Regions from separate parts of the Homo sapiens genome. Here all the other regions are linked to region 1. The links are contacts of gene promoters, found by promoter capture Hi-C in human tissues and cell types (Jung and others, 2019). All regions are on one chromosome and are shown on one strand. Each heading gives the region's core, a stretch centred on a gene start or on the middle of the fragment in contact. The rest is flanking DNA. Distances are from core to core; before and after follow the strand shown.

The links. The method cuts DNA at HindIII sites, captures the fragments that hold promoters and counts their contacts. A contact is called where the count stands out against the background at its distance.
Region 2: a fragment that was not itself captured here is called in contact with the fragment with the promoter of TMEM128 in region 1 in 2 of the 25 tissues and cell types used here (spleen and thymus).
Region 3: a fragment that was not itself captured here is called in contact with the fragment with the promoter of TMEM128 in region 1 in 1 of the 25 tissues and cell types used here (mesenchymal stem cells).

Annotation. Positions count from the first base shown.
Region 1 is chr4:4,246,484-4,249,763 of GRCh38, reverse strand. It overlaps TMEM128 (transmembrane protein 128), which reads left to right and starts at 1,541. Exons shown (of 5, transcript NM_001297551.2): 1 at 1,541-1,658. The coding sequence starts at 1,562. RefSeq lists enhancers at 1,161-1,270, 1,573-2,199. The HindIII fragment of the contact is 14,953 bases long and covers 1-3,280 here.
Region 2 is chr4:4,936,132-4,939,411 of GRCh38, reverse strand. The region is part of intron 2 of LOC101928306 (a long non-coding RNA gene); the gene reads right to left. Among named protein-coding and RNA genes, the nearest start is that of MSX1, 78 kb to the right of the region's middle. The HindIII fragment of the contact is 6,944 bases long and covers 1-3,280 here.
Region 3 is chr4:4,875,635-4,878,914 of GRCh38, reverse strand. No RefSeq gene overlaps it. Among named protein-coding and RNA genes, the nearest start is that of MSX1, 18 kb to the right of the region's middle. The HindIII fragment of the contact is 3,207 bases long and covers 62-3,268 here.

The sequences.
Region 1 (3,280 bases), core at 292-2,791:
TGCCCAAGCTGGAGTGCAGTGGCAGGATCACTGCAGCCTCCTTCTCCCAGGTTCAAGTGATTGTCCTGCCTCAGCCTCCAGAGTAGCTGGGATTACAGGTGCCGGCCACCATTCCCGGCTAACTTTTGTATTTTTAGTAGAGACGGGGTTTCGCCATGTTGGCCAGGCTGGTCTCAAACGCCTGACCTTGTGATCCGCCCGCCTCGGCCTCGCAAAGTGTTGGGATTACAGGCGTGAGCCACCGCGCGCGGCTGGCACTCTTTTCTTGAGTATTTCTTATTACATTCCTTTTACAAACACCCCAACACATCGAAGATATTAAACAGTGCCTACTAATTCAAATTTTACTTCCTATGTAGCTGGCTCTCCACCCCTGTATTCAACTCACCTGAAACCACTCTCCCTGCTCTCCCACACTGCAGCAGAATAAACTGCCCTTTATATGTACAGTGTTTCTATTATGCCCCATGTACAGTGTTTTTATTATGGCACTGTATTGAAGCTGCTTCCTCTACTAGATTCTTCTGTCCTCACCATTTTATCACATGCAGCTGCTCAGAAAATGTTGGCTGCATTGATGAAATGCTTTCATACATTTACAAATAGAGTTTTCTTGTAATATACCTCTGTGGTTTTCTTTGGACAAGGAGCTCCTCACGTGCAAGGCCATGTCTTACTCATCTTTATCTCCACTGCTAGCATGGTGCCTAACAGCTCCTACCAAATAGTAGATGCTCAGTAAACGTTTGCGTGGCTAAGCCCACCATTTCTCAGCACATGACACGCTGGGAAACGGCTGGGAGAGTAATACGCGGGATTATTGACGAAGAAAAAGTTGTGAACTCGTAACACACAGTTTGTGGGCGTGAGCAGTGTGGAAAACCGCAGTTTGCTGGGAAAGCAATTTAGTTCCCTCGGTTCAGGCTGGGAGGATTTTTCACAAGTGGCGAGGAGGAGGCTCACATGAACCACATACAGGTACTTCTCACTGAAACGCACAACAAATCTAGAGCCAAGTGTAATAACGAAACGGGCCCCAAGAAGTTTATTTAATGCCCAGGGCCCCCAAGTGGTCACTGCCAGGCTCTAGCATCCTGTCCAGCAGGCCTTTCTCCTCCTTTCAAGTCTTGCTGGACGACTCCTGAAAAGCAAAAGTAGGAAAAAAACTGGGGGCTGAGAGTGGAAGGCTGGACAGAGGGTATGTCTCCTGCTCTGGCACCCGGAAGCCTGCGAGGGCTTCGGAAGCGCAGCGTCTCACGGTCGCGCATCCCGGCCCTGGACGCATCCAGCGGCAGCGGTAATCCTGGTCCTCCTGGGCTTCCGTAGGTCGGAATAAACTTGGGAACTCTTCCACCGGCAAAGCTCAGTGTTTTAAAATTCAAATCACACTTGCCGACATGAGAGCGGAACCTTTGAGGCCGACTCCACCCTAGCTGCTCGCTAACTAAACAGCGAAGAGAACACAGTCTCCAATCCAAACGCCAGGAGGTCCAGACCCGGAGCGGACGCCGGAAGCGCTGTGTCTGACGTCACTTCCGTCGCATTTCGGGGCGGTACCAAGATGGACTCCTCGCGGGCCCGGCAGCAGCTCCGGCGGCGATTCCTCCTCCTGCCGGACGCCGAGGCCCAGCTGGACCGCGAGGGTGACGCCGGGCCGGGTGAGGCGCGCACCAAGCCGCCCCGAGGTTCTCAGAGGCGAGGCGTCGGAAAACGGCCGGCCTCCGGCAGCCCTGGCCCAGTCTGGAAGGACTGAGTTTCGGCTTTGCAAGTCGAATATTTAATGTCAGGGAAGATCCTTAGAATCGCGGAGTGCTGTGCATCGTCATTTCAGCTGCGCTTCAGAATTCTCTGGAGAGCTGATTTGACACCTATTTGGAAATAGCGATTAAAATTAAAAATACCCACCAGTTTTAAGTCTTAAGGATTTACCAGAAACATGCGTGTACCGCAGTGTACAATGATGTGCGCAGTGTTTCACTTCAGGATTGCTTGTAATAGCGAATTACTGGAAATATCTGCCTTGCCCGTCAGCAGAAAGCTGTTTAAGTAAATTTGGGTATATGTATACCTGACACATCAGGTCGACTCGTATGTACCAATGGGGATGATTTTCAAAGGGAAGTGTGGAACACTATGGTATGCCGCCATTTGGGTACAAAACAGGTAACTTGTGATGTATGTTCACCTGTGAATGCATAGAATATGGAAGAATTCAGTAGAAATTGTAAGTGGTGGTTGCTTCTGGGGATTAGATCTGAGGTTAAGGATGGGAGACAGATACTTCATTTTGGATATTTTTTATCTCATATGTTTTAAAACCACGTCCATTTATTACCTTTTAAAATTAAAAACACGAATAACCTCATGCCCAGGCATGATGATGTATACATTTTGAGGATATCCCAGAATATTACGAACATGCTTCCCAGGGTTTCCGATGGTCATCTAAAGGCCCAAAACCTCAGATGTGGACCATTGATTCTCACGTGAACCTAGAGGGCATGTCAGAATCCCCGGAAAACTTAATAGAAATCATCCATCTGACCCAACCCCCATCCACCCATTCTTTCAGATTGCGTTCCAGACAGGAAAAATGTCTTGTCCATCACCTGTCTAGACAGTGCTGTGCTGGAACTAGAGCTCTGGTGTGCCGTTTCCACTTTTGAGCTGTGTTTAAAGTAACTAAAATATTTAGTTATAGGCTGGGCAGGGTAGCTCACGCCTGTAATCCCAGCACTTTGAGAGGCTGAGGCGGGCTGATCACGAGGTCAGGAGTTCGAGACCAACCTGGCCAAATAGAGCAGCCTGGCCAAGATGGTGAAACCCCGTCTCTACTAAAAATACAAAAATTAGCCCGGCGTGGTGGCAGGCGCCTGTAATCCCAGGTACTCGGGAGGCTGAGGCAGGAGAATTGCTTGAACCCGGGAGGCGGTGGTTGCAGTGAGCCGAGATCAAACCATTCCACTCCAACCCGGGCGACAGAGGAAGACTCCGACTCAAAAAAAAAAAATTTAGTTATAAAAGTGTTCTTGGAAGACCACAAGTCCAGTTCATGCGCTAATGTTTGCCTTTGGCATTTTTCCTAATTAACAAGACTAATTACTTTCCTAGAAGAAATGTGAAACATAATATTAAAATTCTTACATTTCCAGGTGACATTGTTATTTCCGAAAGACGATGAAAGTGTAAATTTGATTTCACAATGTATTTAGAGGAAATAAATTGACTGTATTGACCATATTTTATAGTGGGCTCTTATTTTTTGTAAATATAAACCTAT
Region 2 (3,280 bases), core at 282-2,781, 690 kb before region 1:
AAGATAGGATAGGAAAGTGTAATTCCTGAGATTCTATATAAGAGATCGATGAGCTCATATTTGCATGGAAGACTGGCATCACACAGTTTGAAGATAAGTGATAAAATTCATGCTAAGGATTTTTAGTTTTATTTTAACTTAGATTGCAGGGTTTTTTTGTTTGTTTTTGTTTTTTTGAGATGGAGTCTCGCTCTATTGCCCAGGCTGGAGTGCAATGGCATGATCTCAGCTCACTGCAACCTCTACCTCCTGGGTTCAAGTGACTCTTCTGCCTCAGCTTTCTGAGTAGCTAGGATCACAGGCGCCCACCACCAAGCCTGGCTAATTTTTAGTAGAGATGGGATTTCATCGTGTTGGTCAGACTGGTCTCGAACTCCTGACCGTGGGGGATCTGCCCACCTCAGCTTCCCAAAGTGCTGGGATTACAGGCATGAGCCAGCCACTGCACCCTGCCATGATTGCAGTTTAATAGTAAATTTAAAGAATCACAGGGCAAGAAGAAAACCACAAAAGAAAAGATGCTTTATATTTCAGTAACTTTATTTTTCAATATTTTTTGGGATACTGGTGGTTTTGGGCTACGTGGATAAGTTTTTAAGTGGTGATTCTGAGATTTTAGTGCACCTGTCACCTGAGCAGTTACACTGTACCTAATATGTAGTTTTTATCCCTCACCCTACTCCCTACTTCGTCAGGGTCCCTGATCACTCTTACGCCTTTGTGTCCTCTTAGCTTAGCTCCTACTTATTGGTGAGAATATATGATATTTGGCTTTCCATTCCTGAGTTACTTCACTTAGAAAGGCCTCGAGCTCTGTCCAAATTGCTGCAAAAGACATTATTTTGTTCAATTTTTTGGCTGAGTAGTATTCCATGGTGCATATATACTACATTTTCTTTATCCACTCGTTGGTCAATGAGCACTTAGGTTGGTTCCATATCTTTGCAATTGTGAATTGTGCTGCTATAAACATGCTTGTGCGAGTGTATTTTTCAATATAATGACTTCTTTTCCTTTGCGTAGATACCCAGTAATGGGATTTCTGGATTGAATGGTAGTTCTACTTTTAGTTCTTTTGGGAATCTCCACCCTGTTTTCCATGGTGGTTGAATTAATTTACATTCCTACCAGCGGTGTAAAAGTGATCCCTCTTCAACACATCTATGTCAACATCTTTTCTCCTTTTTGAAAAAGGGGCCCGCCATTTTCATTTTGCACTCTGGCAGCCTTGCCTGGGGAGACAGACACGACGAAGAGGCATGCTCTGGCCTCCAGGTCCTGAGTGTGGAAAGAGGTGAGATGGACAGTTACAGACACAGACCGCCAGGCTCACAGCTCTGCGTTTATCTCTCCTTCCAGCACATGGCTTGCTGCATGGTCATTGTTCATTGTTCTTCTGCCCCCTAGACTGTAGGCCCCATGAGGCCCTGGCCCTGGCACTGAGTCCTTGAGGAGTGCCTGTGAATGAACAGATGGCCTCTGACTTGATACCTTCTCTTTGTTCACATAATCACTTGATTCCCATCCAGTGGGGTGCTTAGTTCTAGACATGCCTGTTTTGAATTATCCCTCTTGGCCATTCGTTTTAAGTCACACATACTGCGATTGTTTTTGATTAAGGCAGCAAGGACATGAGGAATAACAAGAGATGAGACGTGCTTGGCCTTCCCGGGGATCCGACAGGAGCTGCCATGCTTGATGTCTCCAGTGGATTTCCATTTCTGCACCCCGTCCTAGAGATTCAAGAACTTGTCTGGTCCTCCAATCCTAGGAACCTTGGTAGCACAAGGGCCAATCTGCTCCAACACTGCCACTCCCAGGTAATCACATCTTGCTACAATTTCCTATTTACATGTCTGCCTGTGCAATTCATTTTGTAGAATGAATGAATGAATACATTAATCAGTAAATCAAAAGATGGAAGAATCAATGAAAGAATAGCAAATCAGAATAATGACTGCTGAATTTGCTCCCCTTGCTCCCCAAGGTCCTAGAGGGTGTGCTTAGTCAGTACTGAGTGCTTGAACCATGAGACCTCTGGCTCCTGTTGTATCGAGCTAAGCTGGGAATGGCAGACAGACCAATCATGTCAAGGTTCAGCTTTTCAGAGGCTGCAGGGTAAATGGGGCAACAGCACAGGCTTTAGAGCCAGGTGGACAAGGGGTAAAATCTCAACAGTCCTGCTACTTTCTGTGATTTTGGACAAATCTCTTGTTGCCTCTAAGACTGAGTTATCATTTCTGCAAAATGGAAAATATATGTATCTTATGGGATTTTTAAAAATCATTGTATATCATTTATATTTTTAAATTGGCAATTCCTGGCATCAATTATGATTCTTATTTCCATCTGTGCCTAGATACACATAGAGATCTCAAGGCAGCTGCTATGGGAGTAGCTTCCAAGGTCATAGAGCTTTCATCTGCGTTATTTGGCCCATGAGATGTTTTCCATGTTCTGAGCTAGCTTGTATGATTAACTGATGGGAAAGAAGTAGAAAAACTAGCAGACACTCAATAAACATTTACTGAGCTGAATGGCATCCAGGGACCTCCCCATGCCCTGCTTCCATTAAAGGCAAAGCTGTTCCCCACTTCTCAGGACCCTCCTTGTCCTCTCTTCTCCCTACTCCATGCCAACAGCCACCAGGTCCTGCAGGTTTTGTCACTGTGTATTAGTTCACCATGAGTGCCTACTGTATGACTCGTGCTATGCTGGCCACTGTGGATGTTGTGGGGAGCAAATCAGGAGAGGTCCTTGTAGAACTTAGTTTGGTAGAAGAAAACAGACCCTATACAAATACACACCAAATATTCGTTTCATTACATACTGCACACAGGGCTCCAGTGAAACAGGATGGCGAGGGAAAGAGTATGAAACTTCAGTGGGTGGGAAGAAGAAAGGTTCTGTTGTTGTTATTGTTTTCAGACAGAGCCTTGTTCTCTCACCCAGGCTGGAGTGCAGTGGCGTGATCTTGGCTCACTGCAACCTCCGCCTCCTGGGTTCAAGCAATTCTGCCTCAGCCTCCTGAGCAGCTGGGATTACAGGTGCACACCACCACAGCCAGCTAATTTTTATACTTTTACTAGAGATGGGTTTCACCATGTTGGCCAGGCTCATCTCAAACTCCTGACCTCATGATCCACCCGCCTCGGGCTCCCAAAGTGCTGGGATTACAAGCGTGAGCCACCACACCCGGCCGAAGAAAGGCCCTTCAAGAATGAGAATTTGCTGACCAGGAAAAAAAAAGATGAGAAGTGCTTCAGCGGCAGAGGAAATA
Region 3 (3,280 bases), core at 416-2,915, 630 kb before region 1:
AAGGGAATCACACCCCTGCCTTGTCAAGCTCACTGGTTTGTGACGAGGTTTACAAGGTGAGGGAGCAGGTGAGGGTACTATCTGTATATCTTTTCTTCCAGTGTTTCCTTGCCTCCTCTTTTCTGCTCCTACCCTGGCTCTGTAGGGTGGGAGGACAGGAAAGAACCCTCAGGGCTTCCGGCTTCTGAATCCCACGAGAGACAGCTTATCTCAGCCTCACTAAGTCCCTGGCACTGTTCTAAGCACATCACGTGCATCAACTCATTTGATCCTCAGAACAATCCTAAGAGGCAGGAGTTATTACAGCCCATCATCCAGATGAAAAAACTGATCGTGATCACTTAACGGGGTTCAGAAATCCACCAAAGGTCACACAGCCAGGGAGTGAGGGGCCAGGATTTGAACTCAAGCTTCCTGGCTCCTGAGCCCCCAGACTCAGCCAGTTCCTGTGTTCATACTTCCTCTCACACCATAAAACGTAAACCTTTAGGAAAATTGAGAGAAGTTTCCCAAATGGAAGGAAAAGAAGGGGAATTGTGGGTCCTCACACACCATCTCAGAGCCAAGGGGAGGTGGTATTGATTCCAACTTCTTGGATCACTGTGGGGATTGAACTAGAAAATAAACATTCTGGCTTATGGAAGTCCTCAGAGATTGGCACTTCCCTTCAGCACCAGCCCCGGAAGCCCCATCACCCTGAGCCGGTCCATCTCTTGGAATCTTGAAGTGTCCTGTGTCTGGTCGGGACAGGTAAGTAGCAAGATATTCGTGGAGCTGGCAGGCCTACATGGAAATGAGGGCCAACTTTTTCACCTTTATCATTTTCCCCCAAATCCAGGTTCCAGGGACTTGACTGCCATGGCCAGCTGTCAAGGGTGAGGCTGCTGACTTCTCGGCACCCACCTCCATGCCTCCTGGGCCTCCCTGGGTTCCGTGGGGCCTCCTCCGAGTATTGATGGCAGGAAGGACAGGCCCTAGAGCTGGGCTCAGAGCTCAGCAGGGCCCAGTTTGCCATCCTGAGGCTCCTCCAAGCCTCAGGCTCCTATTGTGCAGAACAAGGACAGAAATCCTTCAGGCCAGGAGCAGTGGCTCACACCTGTAATCCCAACACTTTGGGAGGCTGAGGCAGGCAGACCTACTTGACGTAGGCCAGGAGTTCGAGACCAGCCTGAACAACATGGTGAAATCTCGTCTCTACTAAAAAATAAAAAAATTAGCTGGGCCCGGTGTCATGTGCTTGTGATCCCAGCTACTTGGGAAGCTGAAGCAGGAGAATTGCTTGAACCCTATCCGGGAGGCACAGGTTGCAGTGAGCCGGGATCACGCCACTGCACTCTAGCTTGGGTGACAGAGCAAGATTCTGTCTCAAAAAAAAAAAAAAAAAATCCTTCATTCACTTAACAAATATCAAAGTCCTACTGCGTGCTGGGCGCTGTTCCTGGTGCTGGGAAGATCAGGGAATTACACAGATGAAGCCACTGCCCTCACGGAGCCCAGAGCCTAGTGAGGGACAGATAAAGAATAAACAAACGTGTAAGCATGACCTCTGCTGCCATGGAGTGGTTTAAATGGAGAAAAACAAAGCAAGGTGAGGAGGGATCGTAAAGACTCACAACAGCACAATTTTAGGCAAGGGGTCAGGAAAGGCTTCTCTGAGCCACCGAGCAGGTACTTGAGCCAGGTAAAAAAGGGACAGAAAGAATCACACAAATAACCAGGGCACAGCGTTCCAGGAAGAGGGAACAGCAAGTTCAAAGGCCCTGCGGCAGGGATGTGTGCACTGTGCTGGAGAGACAGCCAGAATCACTCAATGGCATCAGTCATTGAAGTCACAAGAGGCAGGGGAGCTACATCCTGTAGGGACTTGCGGGCCAGGGTAAGGGACACTGGAGGAAGGGGAACATTTAGCAAAAGAAAAGACTTAGGAGGACAAGGGATAGTATAGAGCCAGGCCTCAAAGTCAACCAGACAAGGTTCAGACTATGGCTGTTATATTCAATAGCTGTGTGACCTCAGAAAAGTTCTCTAAGCTTTCTGAGCCTCTGTTTCCCCATCTACAAAATGAGTCATTGGCTGGGCATGATGGCTCATGCCTGTAATTCCAGCACTTTAGGAGGCCGAGGCGGGAGGATCACTTGAGGTCAGGAGTTCGAGACCAGCCTGGCCAACGTGGAGAAATCCTGTCTCTACTAAAAATGCAAAAAAAAAAAAAAAAAAAAAATTAGATGGGCGTGGTGGTGGGCGCCGGTAATCCCAGCTACTGGGGAGGCTGAGGCAAGAGAATCACTTGAACCCGGGAGGCAGAGGTTGCAGTGAACAGAGATGGCGCCACTGAACTCTAGCCTGGGTGACAGAGCGAGACTCCGTCTCAAAAAATAAAATAAGTCATCAAGAAGATTCGATGGCAGGGGGGCAGCCCGGGAAGGGAAAGTACCAGGACAAATAACTAATGTATGTGAGGCTTAACACCTAGGCGATGGGCTGATAAATGCAGCAAACCACCGTGGCACACATATACCTAGGTAACAAACCTGCACGTTCTGCACATGTATCCCGGAACTTAAAGTAAAATAAAAATTTGTAATAAAAAAAGAAGCTTCTGCAGCTCAGCTCCCTCTGTGTGACCTGCCTTCTCTGAACTTCAGTTTCCTCCTCTCTGGCCTTGGTGTTCCTTCTCATAAAACAGGGGTAAGAATGTCTTCATGTACTGTGGTGACCTCATGTCCAAGGTGATTATTAAATAATATAATATATGTTGAGTTTTCTCCCAGCACAGTGTCACTTACGAAGACGAACATTTGAAGTGTATTTTCATAATCTTTAGTTAATATCTGTCTCACCTAAGCTCCAGCCTCCATAAGGGCAGAGACCTTGCTTTTGTCCCTCTTTGCCAGTGTGTCCCCAGCACTAGCCCAGGTCCTGGGTACATAGTTGGTGCTCAATAAGTGGTTGGTGCTCATTATGGGTAAGATAAATGCTAACTGAATAGGTGGATAGATAGACAGAAAAATTAACTGTTTCCCCAAGGTGGTGAGTGCCCCATACCCGGAAACGTACAAGAAAGCATCAGAGCAGAGATTGGTTTCACTTATTCACTCAACAAACATTGCTGGGCTGCCCCATGTACCAGCCCTAAGGACTCACAGGGTCACAGCAATGAGTGAAACTGGGAAGCCCCTGCACATTCCAGTGGGGCTAAAAGAGACAGGAAACAATAGATGACGTCTAGGGATGATGAGTGCTAGGAGTAAGAGAAGTAACGCCGGGAGCTACAGAGGAC